Regions from separate parts of the Homo sapiens genome. Here region 1 is linked to region 2. The links are contacts of gene promoters, found by promoter capture Hi-C in blood cells and fetal thymus (Javierre and others, 2016). All regions are on one chromosome and are shown on one strand. The core of a region is centred on a gene start or on the middle of the fragment in contact, and the rest is flanking DNA. Distances in the headings are between cores, read along the strand shown. Region 1 has its middle 17 kb from the start of CGA. Region 2 holds the start of LINC01590 (long intergenic non-protein coding RNA 1590).

What was found. Contacts are between HindIII fragments. The CHiCAGO score rates a contact against its expected background, and 5 or more counts as called.
Region 1: a contact is called between a fragment that was not itself captured here and the fragment with the promoter of LINC01590 in region 2, in 1 of 17 cell types (megakaryocytes). The highest score is 5.9, in megakaryocytes.

Annotation. Positions count from the first base shown.
Region 1 is chr6:87,074,506-87,082,273 of GRCh38, reverse strand. No RefSeq gene overlaps it. Among named protein-coding and RNA genes, the nearest start is that of CGA, 17 kb to the left of the region's middle. The HindIII fragment of the contact is 242 bases long and covers 1,482-1,723 here.
Region 2 is chr6:87,394,765-87,402,079 of GRCh38, reverse strand. LINC01590 (long intergenic non-protein coding RNA 1590) reads right to left here and starts at 4,956. Exons shown (of 2, transcript NR_026784.1): 1 at 3,703-4,956; 2 at 2,339-2,642. The HindIII fragment of the contact is 8,043 bases long and covers 1,164-7,315 here.

The DNA of each region.
Region 1 (7,768 bases), core at 353-2,852, 320 kb after region 2:
TCTCAAGATCATCTGTGAAAATACCTGAAAGAAATCCTAAGGCAGAGTAAGCACAGGTTTGAGGGGGTGCTTCTATCAAAAAAATTGTCCATCATTCACCTCAGCTAGAAAGCTGCTCTGAATTCTCCCCTGTGAGATTCCTTCCTTATGGCTAAAACATGGTATCCCAAGCACCTGCTTTTTAAATGACAACACTCCCAGGAGATGCAATGTGGTTGGCCATAAACAGTTTAATGAACTATTACACAAGTTTAACAGACTATCAGTTCTGTCCACACTGGGAGTTCTGGACCCTTGTTGGCTGGGAAAGGGGGGTGTCTGGCAGAGTATTGAAAAGGATAAAGCAAAGATGCAAGACTTCTACTACTTTGTAATTGTGTCAAGATTTGATGATGAGAAGAAACTCCAAAGTGATTATAGTGATATTATTGGTGACTAGGACTCAAGAAGGAGGTCAATATAACAGTGATGGCACTTGGCCATCGGCCCATCTCCTGGGAGTGAGAGGAAAGGGCAGGAAATGATGAGAGGGAAAGAAAGATACTAGGAAGGGAGGAGAAAGAAGAATGAAGCTGCATAAAAAGTGTGGAGAGGAAAAATGTGTGATGGGAAGAGAGAGAAGCCGGAAAGGCTGCTGGAGAGTCAGTAGCCTCAGAGGTGGCAGAGCTGGAGTCAAGCAGAAAGAATAGACCATTACTCTACTCATGTCCACCCACTCATGCCCACCCCTCTTCCCCTCTGTCAAAATCTAAATAATCAAGATCTCTAGGCTGTATGCAACTATTGTACAAATTGGAAAAGGATGCTTTCTCTGGGCAGGCACAGCACCTTGAGTAAATGGCTTCACAATCATAAGGTGCAGAAAAACATCTTTTCCCTCAGGCAGAGGTGGAGTGGGGTCTGGATAGTTGTTAGCCCTCACTTCCTGGATGGGCACCTTTGTGCAGTACACAAACTGTGCAATCTTACATGGCAGCTCTATCTATAATCTCATCATAGTAATATGACCATTGTTGCATTTTGAAAAATAATGGCCTAAATTGGTGAGAATCTTGACATCTAAGATTCCAAATGTTGATGTATTTTTACCCTAATACTGCTTGGGGTGGGGGATCCTGGATAAAATATTGGTCCAAATACAGTTTTGTTTGGTTTTATTATGCATGGAAAAAGTAGAAGGGACATCCAGAATCTGGCAAAGGACAGGAAGGTAAAACCAAAAAATACACATGCAAATGACCATGAAGCTGACATGAGGAAATTGGCTAGGACCACAAACGTCAATAAGACCAGAGAGGTTGACTTACTTGACAAAAAGTTAAACAACATCAAACTGCCTGACATTAATACAGCTCTTCTACTTTCTTAGAACTTCCCATGTCTAATGCATCCATGTTTTTCACTTAGCCCCTTCCAGACTGAGAGTTGGAACATGTGGCACCATCTTCATTTGACAATTGGATAAACAGAAGTACAAAGCTTTGGTTGTATAGGAACAAAGAATGTGTATAGGAAAAGTGAGCATCTCCATTTCTGAGCTGCTTCTTTCTAATTCCAACTTCCTTCCAAATCTATGACGTTTTCACTTTATCTACAAAGAACTATTTCCCCATGGACACTAACAGAAAACTCTCCTTGAGATTTGCCCAGGTTGAAAACCCATTCTATTAAAAGATCTGATATTTGGTCTGTGAATTGTCTACTAATGCTTTGTCTGGAAGCTTGGGCTTCAGCTTCACCCTTATAGCTCTTCTTCCTTTACTCAACGACTTCTTCAGTTATTTTCTTTCGAAACTTAATTCATATCTCAAAGCTATCCTATCCCTCAGGAGGAGAAACATGAAGAGATTTCTGTGTTGTGGAAGACGACTAGGATATCCATATTCTTCTATTCAAAACTGGGTAGCATGAGGAATTGCAAATTTTAAACGCTGTTTTCACAAGGAACTGAAGCTGGATCTGAGTTCCCTCAGAACAAAGACAGAAGTTAATTATTGCATCAAACTTCAAAATGAGAGACAGAAAAAGAAAATAACTATTGGATTTTAAAAATGAATTTCCCTTCCGAACTCCAGAAAAGCATATGCTCTGAAAAGTATATACTTTTCTATTGAATGTGACTCCCAGGGCTCACTCATCTCTAGGACTTGAAAGCTGAGGCTTTGGGAAAAAGGAGGGAAGGAGGGTCAGGAGAGGAGTCTCTGAAGAAGCAGCCAGAAGCTGGGCACATTATCGAAAATTTGTAAGAGAGTGTTCAACAAAGACATTCTATTGTTTAAAAACCATTTCCGTTAATGGGATGTTAGCAGAAAGTAGAATAGTAAAGTAAAAGCACTAAAACTGTATCAGTTTTCTCCAAATGCTATTGATCAGAAAGTGTGTTTGAATTATAGTCACTTATTTTGCTGTAAATTGTCTGTGAACAGTAATTGATTCTTAGTTAAGTTGACAGCAAGTAGAATTTCAGTACGTGCAAATTTACTTCTGTATACCTTTTTCCCAGTTGCAACTCATGTTGAGGATAACTGGACAAGGCCAGCATTAGGACTAGGCCTAGGAAATGGAGATGAACTCCGGGGCAGAAGTAATGGTTTGCCCAAGATGGCTTCAGAGGGATAAAGGAAGAGGAAGAAAGAAAACCCGGGCGTAACCTAGAAATGTACCACATCTTTGTGAAGATGGAGAAGTGGGACAGGCTGTGTGTATAAAGGGTTGCTGGCAGGCGCTTGGGTTGAAATTATGGTTGGAGGAACTAAAGTCTTAACCTTGGGTTTTAGGGAGATAATTTACCATCTAAATTAAATTATGGTTACCACCACAGTTATTCTAGTGACTATGTTTCTGTGCGACACACTCTGATATGGAAGACAGTGATAACATCAGAGATGCATTCGCTGTTTACATGGGCAGGGTGGGCTCTGAGAGCTCTGGGGTAGGCTCTGTTATTCCTGAAGCTGAAGACACAAGTGCTGGCCACAGCGTGTGAAACTGAGCGTGGCCAAAGAGAAGCCCTCCCTCACTGCCAGCTATGGATTTCTTCAGTCCGCTGCAGAACTCACTGCTGCCCCTTGTGGACAAGTGGTCCATGGAGCTTCTGGAAGAGTCAGTGGGTGAGGCTGGGAGCGATGCTAGGCCGAATGGGTCCAGCTGACTGGGCACATTTGTCTTCATGCTTATGGGATCTTTCTGTTCATTTGCTCCTGATGTGCCCTTTTAGTGACATCCAACTACCTGTGGGGTGGCAGCTGTAATACTTGTGCACTTGGCAAGAAATATTTGATAAGCTAAACCTAAATTCCAAAATTCCTTCAGATTATTATAAGAATTTCAATAATACATTTGTCAATGCAAGGAAAGGAAAAACATTTAGGTTAAATATGTAAGCTCAAATTTCAAATTGAAATATCTGAAAATATTGTATCTGGGTTTCATTCAAATTTGATACCCTGTATTTTTCTCACAACTGTATTTTTTTTAACCAAGCCCCATATGGACATCCACAAACACCTTCTAGTTCATCCTACTTTTTTCTCTGTGCTAGGACATAAAAGGTTTAAAAACAGTTGGCTAGGGGACTAGATATAGATATACAAAAAAACTCCAGCAAAACAAAAATAAAAAAACTCAGAAAACTTCTTTGTGTTTGGTTGCCATCTGCAATAAAGCAAGGCACACAGTAAAGCATCTAATGAATATTCAGGAAAGGGAGATCCTGAAAAACGTTTAGCAAGCAAAGGATGGAAATGGAATTAATTATATAGTAACCTGTTATTACTAATTTAAGATGTGTGAAATGCCATTAACATTATCTTCATTTGGCTTGCTGTCTTTATTGTTTCACATTAGTGAACATAAAAATATTTATATGCGCTTACATAGTAACCATTTTACTATCTATATGTATCCCATAACATTATGTTGTATGCCTTAAGTATATATAATCACATTTATTTTTAAGGCTGGGTGCACTGGCTCACGCCTGTAATCATAGCACTTTGAAAGGCTGAGGTGGGCAGATCACTTGAGCTCAGGAGTTTGAGATCAGCCTGGGCAACACGGCAAAACCCTGTCTCTTTAAAAAGTACAAAAACATTAGCTGGGCGTGGTGGCAGGCCCCTGTAGTCCAGCTACTTGTGGGGACTAAGGCAGGAGGATTGCTTGACCCCCCAGAGGTTGAGGCTGCAGTGAGCTGAGATTGTGCCACTGCACTCCAGCCTGGGTGACAAAGTGAGACCCTGTCTCAAAAAACAAAAGCATCTACTCTAAGATAAATATTCATTACAAAGAGAAAAATTACAACGTTACAGTGGAGAAAGCTGGCTAACACAGCGACTAAGGTTAACTTCACCAGCAATAATGTTGGATACCAACATCATAAGACCCCCCCCCGGAATCATGCTCTGAGAAGGGCTGAAAATGCATGCACTCAATCTAATTATGGAAAAGCATCAGACAAACGATTTGAGGAAAAATCTACAAAATAACTGGCCGGTACTCTTAAAAAATGTCAAGTTTCATTAAAGACAGGGTAAGATCAGTTGCTATCACAGATGAGAGGGGACTAAGGAGACATGACAAGTAATGCAAAGTGAAATTCTTGGATTGGATCCCAGGACAGAAAAAGAATGTTAGTGGCAAACTGACGAAATTTCCATAAAATCTGTATTATTTATTTATTTTTGTTTACTTATTTTTCAAGACAGGGTCTCATTCTGTCACCCAGGCTACAGTGCGGTGACCTGATCTCGGCTCACTGCAACCTCCACCTCCCGGGTTCAAGCGGTGCTCCCACCTCAGCCTCCCAAGCAGGTGGAATTACAGGTGCATGCCACCAAGCCCAGCTAATTTTTTGTATTTTTAGTACAGACCATATTTCACCATGTGGGCCAGGCTCGTCTCAAACTCCTGACCTCAAGTGATCTGCTCGCCTTGGCCTCCCAAAGTGCTGGGATTATAGGCGTGAGCCACTGTGCCCGGCCTAAAATCTATATTTTAGTTAATAGTATTGTACCAGTATATCTCTTGGTTTTGATAATTGTACTTTGGTTATGCAAGATATTATCATTAGGGAAAATGAGTGAAGCGTATATTTGATCTCTCTATTTTTGCTACTTTTCTGCAAGCCTAAAATTACTTCAAAATAAAAATGTAATAAAAATCCTTTTAATCTGATTTCTGAATTCCTTACTCTGCTGTATTGAGTCCTTTTATGAACATTACTGAACCATTTGTTTGCCAAATCACAAGGCTCTACGCAATTGGCTCCAACCTATCTCTGCAGCCTCATGTACACATATCACTCTGTCTACCTTCTGGCCACACCCAACTTTTGTCTCATAAACACGTGTATGCCTTCATATCTCCTGCACCTCTGGACTGGATGTTCTCATTGCCTACAAAGCTCTCCCTCTTCACTGCATGGGGAAATCTATTAACTGTTCAAGACTCAGTTCATGTGTCTCCTTCTTTGTGATGCCTTCTTGGATTTCTTCTAACAGAATTATTCACTCTCTCCTTTTTTCCCCAATGTTTGTTGAACTTCCTTCTATTATAACACATATTAATTTGTCCACCTATTCATTAAGCAACAAATATTTTGGAGTATCTGCTCTGTGCCAGGCACTGTGGTAGGTATTGGATATACGTTGGTGAATAAAATAATATAGTCCTCCCCTTCATGAGTTTATATAGTCAAGAGGCAAAGACAGAAAATAAACAAGCAAACAAATGAATAGATAAATATATAACTAAAAATTGTGGCAAGGGCTATATAAAAAACCCAATAGCACATAAAAATAGAGAGTAATGGGGTAGGATGGGTAGACATTTTTGGATAAGACAGAGAAGGCTTCTTTTAAAATGACCATTCATTTCATTAAAACATTCTCATTAAAAAATTCTGGTAATACAGAAAAGTACAAAATTCAGTATAAAAAATTACCCATAATGCCATCACTCAGAAACAATAATCATAATCAGGCTTCTTCTTTTTTTTTTTTTTGACAACAGAGTGCTCTGTTGCCCAGGCTGGAGTGCAGTGGTACGATCTCAGCTCATTGCAACCTCAGCCCTCTGGGTTCAAGCATTTCTCCTGCCTCAGCCTCCCAAGTAGTGGGACAATAGGCACATGCCACCACGCCCTGATAATTTTTTGTACTTTTAGTAGAGACAGGGTTTTGCCACCTTGGCTAGGCTGGACTGGAACTCCTGGCCTCATGTGATCCGCCTGCCTCGGCCTCCCAAAGTACTGGGATTGCAGGCGTGAGCCACTGCGCCTGGCCCATAATCAGACATTTTAATGCTTATATACATACAGAAGGATAAATGTACAGATCAAAGTGATCATATTGTTCATGTTGTTTCAAATAAGTATTTGATAGATACTAGGTTTTTAAATTTTTTTTTTTTTTTAATAGGGTCTCACTCTGTCACCCAGGCTAGAGTGTAGTAGTACAATCTCAGCTCACTGCAACCTCAACCTCCCAGGCTCAAGCCGTCCTCCTACTTCAGCCTCCTGAATAGCTGAGACCTACCATGCTTGGCTAATTGCATTTTTTGTAGAGAGGTGTTTTGCCATGTTGTCCAAGCTGATCTTGAGCCCCTGAATTTGAGGCGATCCACCCACCTTGGACTCCTAAAGTGCTGGGATTATAGGTGTGAGCCACCATCCCCGGCTTGATAGATGCTAGTTCTAAGACAATGATTCTCAATCTTGGCTGCCCATGAGAAAGCCCTGAGGTGTACAGGTATAAAGTGCAGAGATGGGGGAATCAGCTCTCCCTGCAGTAGGAGGTTGGGACAGGGACCACTTTATGGAAGTGGAAATGTCTACGCTGGGCTTTGACCGTTCACATGATTTCACAAGGTTGAAAAGGAGAACCAAGGACATTCCAGTGAGATGGAACAGCTCAGAGGCATGGAGTGAGGGAGGAAGTAGTCTAGGACTCTGCACAGGGGTTCAGTGCTGTGGGCTGGGAACTGTGGGAGTCATGGCTAAATCAAGATGTGAGACCCAGGTGACAAAGGGGCTGGTGTGCCACTCTAAGGAAAGTTTTGCTGTCAATCTATGTAAGGAGGTTAGTAAAATAATTATCTCTGTTACTACTATTTTTTTTGAAATGGAGTCTCGCTCTGTTGCCAGGCTGGAGTGCAGTGGCGTGATCTTGGCTCACTGCAACCTCTGCCTCCTGGGTTCAAGTGATTCTCCTGGCTCAGCCTCCCGAGTAGCTGGGACTGCAGGCCCGTGCCACCACGCCCAGCTAATTTTTGTATTTTTAGTGAAGACGGGGTTTCACCATTTTGGCCAGGATGGTCTCGATTTCTTGACCCCCCTGCCTTCGACTCCCAAAGTGCTGGGATTACAGGCGTGAGTCACCGCACCCGGCCCTTTTTTTATTTTTTAAAAATCAGTAAAGAAAGTCAATTAAGCTACTTATATGTTCCTTAATCAGAGTCCCCTGTGACATATTCTTCCTTGACTTTCAGTCTCATTAAACATTTATCTAACATAATTTTCTATGCTTATTAGAGCAGAAAATGAATCTTGTGCAAATCAGCTTTTTGCCCTTTTACTTAGTTTCAAGAAGACTCAGAAGCAGGCATAGGGCCTAATTCAATGCCTTTCCAGATGAAGAAAGTCTAGCTCTTGGTGGATTTCCAGATTTCAACCGCCTCTGAATTCTTGGTGACCATGTGACTCCATTCATTGTTACTCCATGGTGGACTTCCCTAATGCTGACCAGCCTCCCCTGAGTAGAGGACATGTTCT
Region 2 (7,315 bases), core at 3,707-6,206:
GCAAGTCACCCTTATTTCCGTTTCTCTTAGGATAAGCATGAGCTATTTTCTTGTACTTTCCCATATCCTTTTAGTCAGGAGGATCACAAGATTATTCCTTAACCATCTTCTTCATGGAGATTCTTTTTCAAATGTTATTTACATGGGCACAGATACAAAAAGGCAGAAAAAAAAGCAGATAGTTTCGTTTCCTGATACAAACATAGCATAGCTTCTTGAGTTCAAGGGTCCTGTCTAACCCTTAAAAATCTACTTTTCTTTGTAATTATCAAGAATATTTTGGCCGGGAGCTGTGGCTCACGCCTGTAATCCCAGCACTTCGGGAGGCTGAGGCGGGTGGATCACGAGGTCAGGAGATCGAGACCATCCTGGCTAACATGGTGAAACCCCGTCTCTACTAAAAATACAAAAAATTAGCTGGGCGTGGTGGCAGGCACCTGTAGTCCCAGCTACTCGGGAGGCTGAGGCAGGAGAACGGCGTGAACCCGGGAGGCGGAGCTTGCAGTGAGCCGAGATCGCGCCACTGCAGTCCAGCCTGGGCGAAAGAGCCAGACTCTGTCTCAAAAAAAAAAACAAAAAAAGAATCCTTTTCTTTTTTTCTTCTCTTTTTTAAGAGACAGATTCTTTCTCTGTTGCCCAGGCTGGAGTGCAGTGGTGTGATCATAGCTCACTGCAGCCTTGAACTCCTGGGCTCAAGGGATCCCCCTGCCTCAGCCTCCTGAGTAGCTGGGACTACATGTATGCACCACCACACCTGGTGAATTTTTAAATTTTTTTGTAGAGACAAAGTCTTGCTACATTGCTCAGGCCGATCTCCAACTCCTCGGCTCAAATGATCCTCCCACCTTGACCTCTCAAAGTGCTGGGGATTATAGGCATGAGCCACAGCACCTGGCCAAGAATCTTTAAAGGTAAGATGAATGACGAAAGAAAGCCTTAATTCTTCATTTTCCATCTCTTTCTCCATCGCATGAATCAGTCAGTGGAGAAATAAGGGACCTTAGCATCAGATTTTCACCACTTAAATCAGGGAGGGTAATTGAGGCATTTAAGGAAGATAAACAAGCATAGGGCTTTTTTATATATTACAAAAGAAGTCAAAATTATAAGAGCACAAAAATGAAAAAAAAAGAATCAGTGAATTCTGTTATAATCATCAAGCTTCTATAAAAAGTGGGGGCAATAGTGGTTCTTCTTTCTTAGAATTATAAACCAGGTGCAACTTCATACACATACCACATGGTCTTAATTAGGAAAACAGGATTCAAAGCATCAAAATCTTTGCTACTGTAGCATGTGTGGCAATGATTCTCAACTCTAGAGAGTGAAGGACAGCATATCAGCCATGCATTGGCAGCCCACCATGAGCAACTCTGATATGTGCTACTGATCTATTTTGTATATGTGGAAAATGTCGCTGTGTAGCTTTTCTTAAAGGTGAATATCTCCCTGTCTTTTGCTCACCCACCCTCGCACCCATCTACCCAATCCTTAACTAATGACCAAGTCTTTATTAACTTCTCTTGAACCAACTTGCTTTCTCCATTCCCACTTCTCCCACGTTCATTAAAGCAACTGTCTTTGCTTGCTTAGATGACTGCAATGAAGAACTAATTGAGCTCCCTGCCTCTCCAGTTTTGTACTCCCCCAATTATTTGCCTAAACTTATCTTTCAAAAATAGAAATCTGATCATGTCATTCCCTGCTCAACACCTTGTAAAGGTTTCTCAATGGTCTTTGGGTAACTCCAGACTCCTTGGCATGGTATACGAAGCCGTTAATGTCAACCTCAGCTTTCACAACTGCCTCTCCTCTCCTGACAGACTGCACTGTTGCCATTCTCTGGCCATGTTGCATTAACTTCCATTTTTTTCTGGGCTCCAGACCTTTGCCTAGAGGTTACTCCCTCTATCTCTGAATGTCCCCTTTCCTCTTCATCTGATTAATTCCTCCATGTCTTCAGAAGCCATCTCTCCTATGAAACTTTCTCTGACCGGCGATACTGGGTTTAGGGTCCTAAACCTTCACCTCTAACTAGTTCCAAAACATTTCCACCACTGCAAAAAGAAACTTCATACTTATCAAGCAGTAACTCCCCATTTCTCCATTCCCCCACTGCTTACACCTGACAAAGCTCTCAATACTCTATGGAAGTCTATTTTCCTGTCTGTCTCTCCCACTAGACCATAGCTCTTTGAAGACAGGGAGCATACCTTGTTGAGTTCCCCACACCTAAGAAGAGAGCCTGGGATGTAATAGTCACAGTTGACCATCTGGGTTAAAGAGGTGAGTATAGAAGTGAGTAGGTTAAAAAAGAGGGTGGGGGGAGATTTTTAAACATCTTTAAATTAATGTCTTTACTAAAGGGTTAGAATGATTTCAGAAGGAAATTACAATTTTGAAGGGAAAGGAAAAGACATTGAAATTACAGGTTTCAGAAGAAGAGCTTCCTCTGACTCCAGCTTTGGCTCTCCTGCCTTGGGATCCCCAACCCACCCCCAAGCACCCTTGTATGCATTCCTCAGGAAGAGGGATGTTGTTCTCAGTGTTTTCCTCTTCCATCCGTGCCTCAAACTAGGCAGCTTCCAATGGTGCCCTGGGCTTCAGAAGGTGGCCACTGAGCTGACCTCTAGGCTTGCAGGCTTCCTAGGAGAGCAGGTAGTGGAGGTGGGTATGGGGGATGGTGACTGGGCTCCAGTTTGAATTTCATCTTTATGATTCCCTCCCACTATGGGAAGCATTACGGCATGAATCCCAACGACGAAGTTTAATTTGGGACAGTCTAAACCCTTATTAAAGTCATACTATTTTCTCAATCATCAAGAAAACTGCCTTTCTCTGTAGTCCATAAGTCCTCAATTTTGTGAGGAGGAATTTTTTTTTTTTTTTTTTTTGAAACAGAGTCTCACTCTGTTGCCCAGGCTGGAGTGGAGTGGTACAATCTCACTGCAACCTCCACCTCCCAGGTTACAGTGATTCTTGTGTCTCAGCCTCCCAAGTAGCTGGGATTACAGGCACATGCCACCATGCCCGGCTAATTGTTGTATTTTCAGTAGAGACAGGGTTTCACCATATTGCCCAGGCTGGTCTCAAACTCCTGGCCTCAAGTGATCCCCCACCTCGCCCTCCCAAAGTGCTGAGATTATAGGCATGAGCCACCATGCACAGCTAAGAAGGAATTTTTTGGATCTCCTTCCACCTTTGCTGAAATTCTAAAAAAGCTGCATTCCACTTTTAGCAGCTGTTTTCTTATGGCTGAATAAATGCCAGAGATGCCATCAGATTACTTTAATTCAACTGTCTCTCAGTTGACGAGGGCTGAACTGTCAGTTTCCTCTTGGCACAATGCAAGTAGAAAGATAGTAATAAGTGGCTGGGAGCAGTGGCTCATGCCTGTAATCCCAGCACTTTGGGAGGCCTAGGTGGGTGGATCACGTGAGGTCAGGAGTTCGAGACCAACCCGGCCAACGTACAGAAACCCCATCTCTACTAAAAATACAAAAATTAGCCAGGCATGGTGGCACTTGCCTGTAATCCCAGCTATTCAGGAGGCTGAGGCAGGAGAATCACTTGAACCTGGGAAGCGGAGGTTGGGGTGAGCCAAGATCACGCCATTGCACTCCAGCCTGGGAGACAGAGTGCAAGACTCCATCTCAAAAAAAGAAAAGAAAAGAAAAAGAAAGAAAGATAGTAATAACTCACCTGAATTTCTCGTCAGCACTTCAGGATCATGATCTCTAACACTCATCTTCTCTCTGTCACACTCAGGGTTGGGGTGCAGCCCCAGCTGAGGTCTGAGGACAGTGGGTGGATGTGGGGCAGGGAGCTGGAAGAACACTGGAGAGACAGCAGGTAAATGAGACATGGCTTTATTCAGCAGCCCCTTCACAGGGTCAGTGTTACATTTATACACTACACAAACACTAGTGGCTGAGAGCCAGGTGGGGAGCTGCTCTATGTTATGCCTACATGGCTGTGACTATATAAGACACAGGACTGTGCACTTGCACCCCAATCCCGCTGAGATGTCTAGGCTGTTTACCTCGGCCTATTCCTGCTACCCTATGCCTGCTTGGCTACAGCACAGCCATGTTCCTTACACTCTCCAAACCTGTCCCACTCTCTGCATTCTTTATGGGATGAATTGGCATTGATTTAATAGCTGGCTCAAACCTGATCCCACTTCCCCCACTCCCTCTCCCCTCACACTCAGACCTGTCACTAAGCCTGTCCAGCCCTTCTCAGCAAGTCTCACATCCATTTCCTTCCCTAATTACTAATGCTCTCACTCAGGCAGGTTATGGGAATCTCCTAACTGTATTATCTGCTTCCAGGCTGGGGCACTCCCACAGGCAAAGCTGATAATATTACTGCCTGTGTACTGCCCTTTCTGCAGACCACAGAAGGCCCTGCAGAAGAAAATTCAGTCCTCCTCAATGGGATGCAAGACCCTCCTGCAACTGGCCTCTGTTTATCTCTAAACCTGCACTGTTCAATATGGTAGCCACTAACTGATGAAACTATTTAAATTTAAATTAGCTAGAATTAAATGAAAGTTAATATTCAATTCTTCAGTTGTACTGGCCAAATGTGGCTAGAGGCTACCGTATTGGACAGTGACAATATAGAACATTTCCATCATTGTAGAAAATTCTGTTGGATACTTACCTTACCCCTACTGCACCTGAACTCAAATTTTCAAATGATCCGCACCTTTGAGCATACTGTGCTTTAGCTGAGGCAACCTCCTTTAATTGGATTACTTACCTTGCCAACGATGCCCTTCAAAACACAGATCAAATGTCATCCTATTCAGAGAAGCCTTTCCAGCCAAGCCTCCCACTCTTGTGCAAGTGATCACTTCCTCATTTGGACGCCCATTGCACTCTCTGCAGACTTCTACCATAGCGCCCCTAACACTCCATGTCACCTAGTGTTCATGTCTGTTTCCCTTTACTACAGTGTGAGCCTGGGCTGGGGTCAGGAACCCAATCTTATTCATTTTTCTAGCCCCAGCTCTAGACTAATGCCTGACATATAGGATATGCTAAGAACTAATTTTGTGAATGAATAAATATTACCAATAAATATTCTAAGGTCAAGATTTTATCAGACTTCAGAAACAAGAGAATGCCCCAATTTAAATGCCTCACTGACAGGTAAAAACTTTGAAGAGGAAATATATTTCCAGAATGATCATCGAAATACTGGATATGCTCTTTTAAGTCGCAATGTCATGCTAGAGTTGTGTTCCATTTACAACTAACCCACGAGAGGCATGACAATTGGAGTGGATAATTGAGATGGTTTGACAGGTATAGCGAGGTGTGGCTGACTGCACACGAAGGAAATTCCAGCTTCAGCAATTATTAGATACACACCTACGACATTAAAAGCATGAAGATTTGGCTAGTCAATTCAAATATTAAGTGTCTAGGCTTAAAAATATTTTATTGGGACATTTTCCATTATAAAAATAAGACATGCTCTTTATGAAAATTTGGGAGTACAAATCTGCCACCCATAGATTCATTAACAAAGGATTAATGTTGTTAACATGTTCATGTAATGACTCACCTTATCTACATTCTTACCATATCTTATGTTACTCCTTTACAGTCAACATTACAACACAGACATTTTTATATCTTATTATGGGCTGTATTTTTAATAGCTGTATAATATGCAATTGAGTGGATGTGTCATAATTTACTGAAGTATTCCCACTATTATGTAGTATATTTTCAAGTTTTCACCATTATAAATAACAGTGGAGTTATTTGAGTATAAGAATTTTTTGTATCGCATGTAATTTATTCAGATTCCCAGATGTGAAATATCTGAGTTTTTAAATATCTGCTTCATTTGCTACTTTATTCCTAGTACCTAGAACAATGCCTATCCCATGGTAGGTATTTTATTAATAATTGTTTAATGAATATGAGATGTTAATTAAGTGGAAAAAAGCTGGCTTGATATGTAGACACCAAAAGCATGTCATAGGCATGTCTTGTGACAGGTTCCAGGGAAGACTTTGTCCCCACTTTTAAAAAAATTAATAAATTTTATTTTTTAGAGCAATTTTAGGTTCACAGCAGTATTGAGTAGAAAGTACAAAGTTCCCGTCTATCCCTATCCCCACACACCTAACCTCCCTGGCTACTGACATCCTGCACCACGGTGGCACATGTTATAATTGATGAACCCATCATTATCACCTGAAGTCCATAGTTTAGGATTCACTCTTGGTGCCGTGGAATCTATGGGTTGGGACAAATGTATAAGGACAGGTATCCACCATTACAGTATCATACAGAATAGTTTTACTGTTATAAAAATGCTCTGTGCTCTATCATCCCTCCCTTCCCCCAACCCCTGGCAACCACTGATCTTTTTACTGGAGTACAATTGTTGAACCACATGGTAAGACTATGTTTAGTTTTGTAAGAAACTGCCAAACTGCTTTCCAAAGTGGCTATACCATTCTGCATTCCCACATGTCAGCAGAGAAAAGAATTCCAATTTCTTCACGTCCTTGGCAGCATTTGTTGTTGTAAATGTATTGTTTTGGCCATCCTAATAGGTGTGTAGTAGTATGTTATTGTTATTTTAATTTGCAATTCCCTAATGACATATGATGTTGAACACCTTTTCATATGCTTAATTGCCATCTATATATCTCCTTTAGTGAGATATCTGTTGAAATTTTTTGCTCATTTTAAAAGTTGGGTTTTTTGTTTCATATTGTTTAGTTTTAAGGGTTCTTTGTATGATGTGGTTAACAGTCCTTTATCACATATGTGTTTTGCAAAAATGTTATCCAAGTCTGTGGCTTGTGTTTTCATTCCCTTAACAAGGTATTTTGCAGTGCAGAAGTTTTCAATTTTCATGAAGCCCAACCTATCCATTTTTTCTTTTATGGATGATGCTTTTGGTATTCTATTAAAAAATCATCATCAAATTCAAGGTCATCTAGTTTTTTTCTGTTATATCCTATAGGTTTTATAATTTTGTGTTTTACATTTAGGTCTGTTATCATTTTGAGTTAATTTTTGTGAAGGCTATAGAGTTTGTGTCTTCATTTTTTTTTCTTTTTTTCTTTTTTGCTTCTGGATGTCCTGTTGTGCCAGCACCTTTTGTTGAAAATATTATCTTTTCTCCTTTGGATTGCCTTTGCACCTTTTTCAAAAGAATTGACTATGTCTGTGTGGGTCTATTTCTGGACTCCTTATTCTGTTCCACTGATCTATTTATTTATTCTTTGGCTTATACCACACTGTCTGGTAGCTTTTCAGTAAGCCTTGAAGTCAGGTAG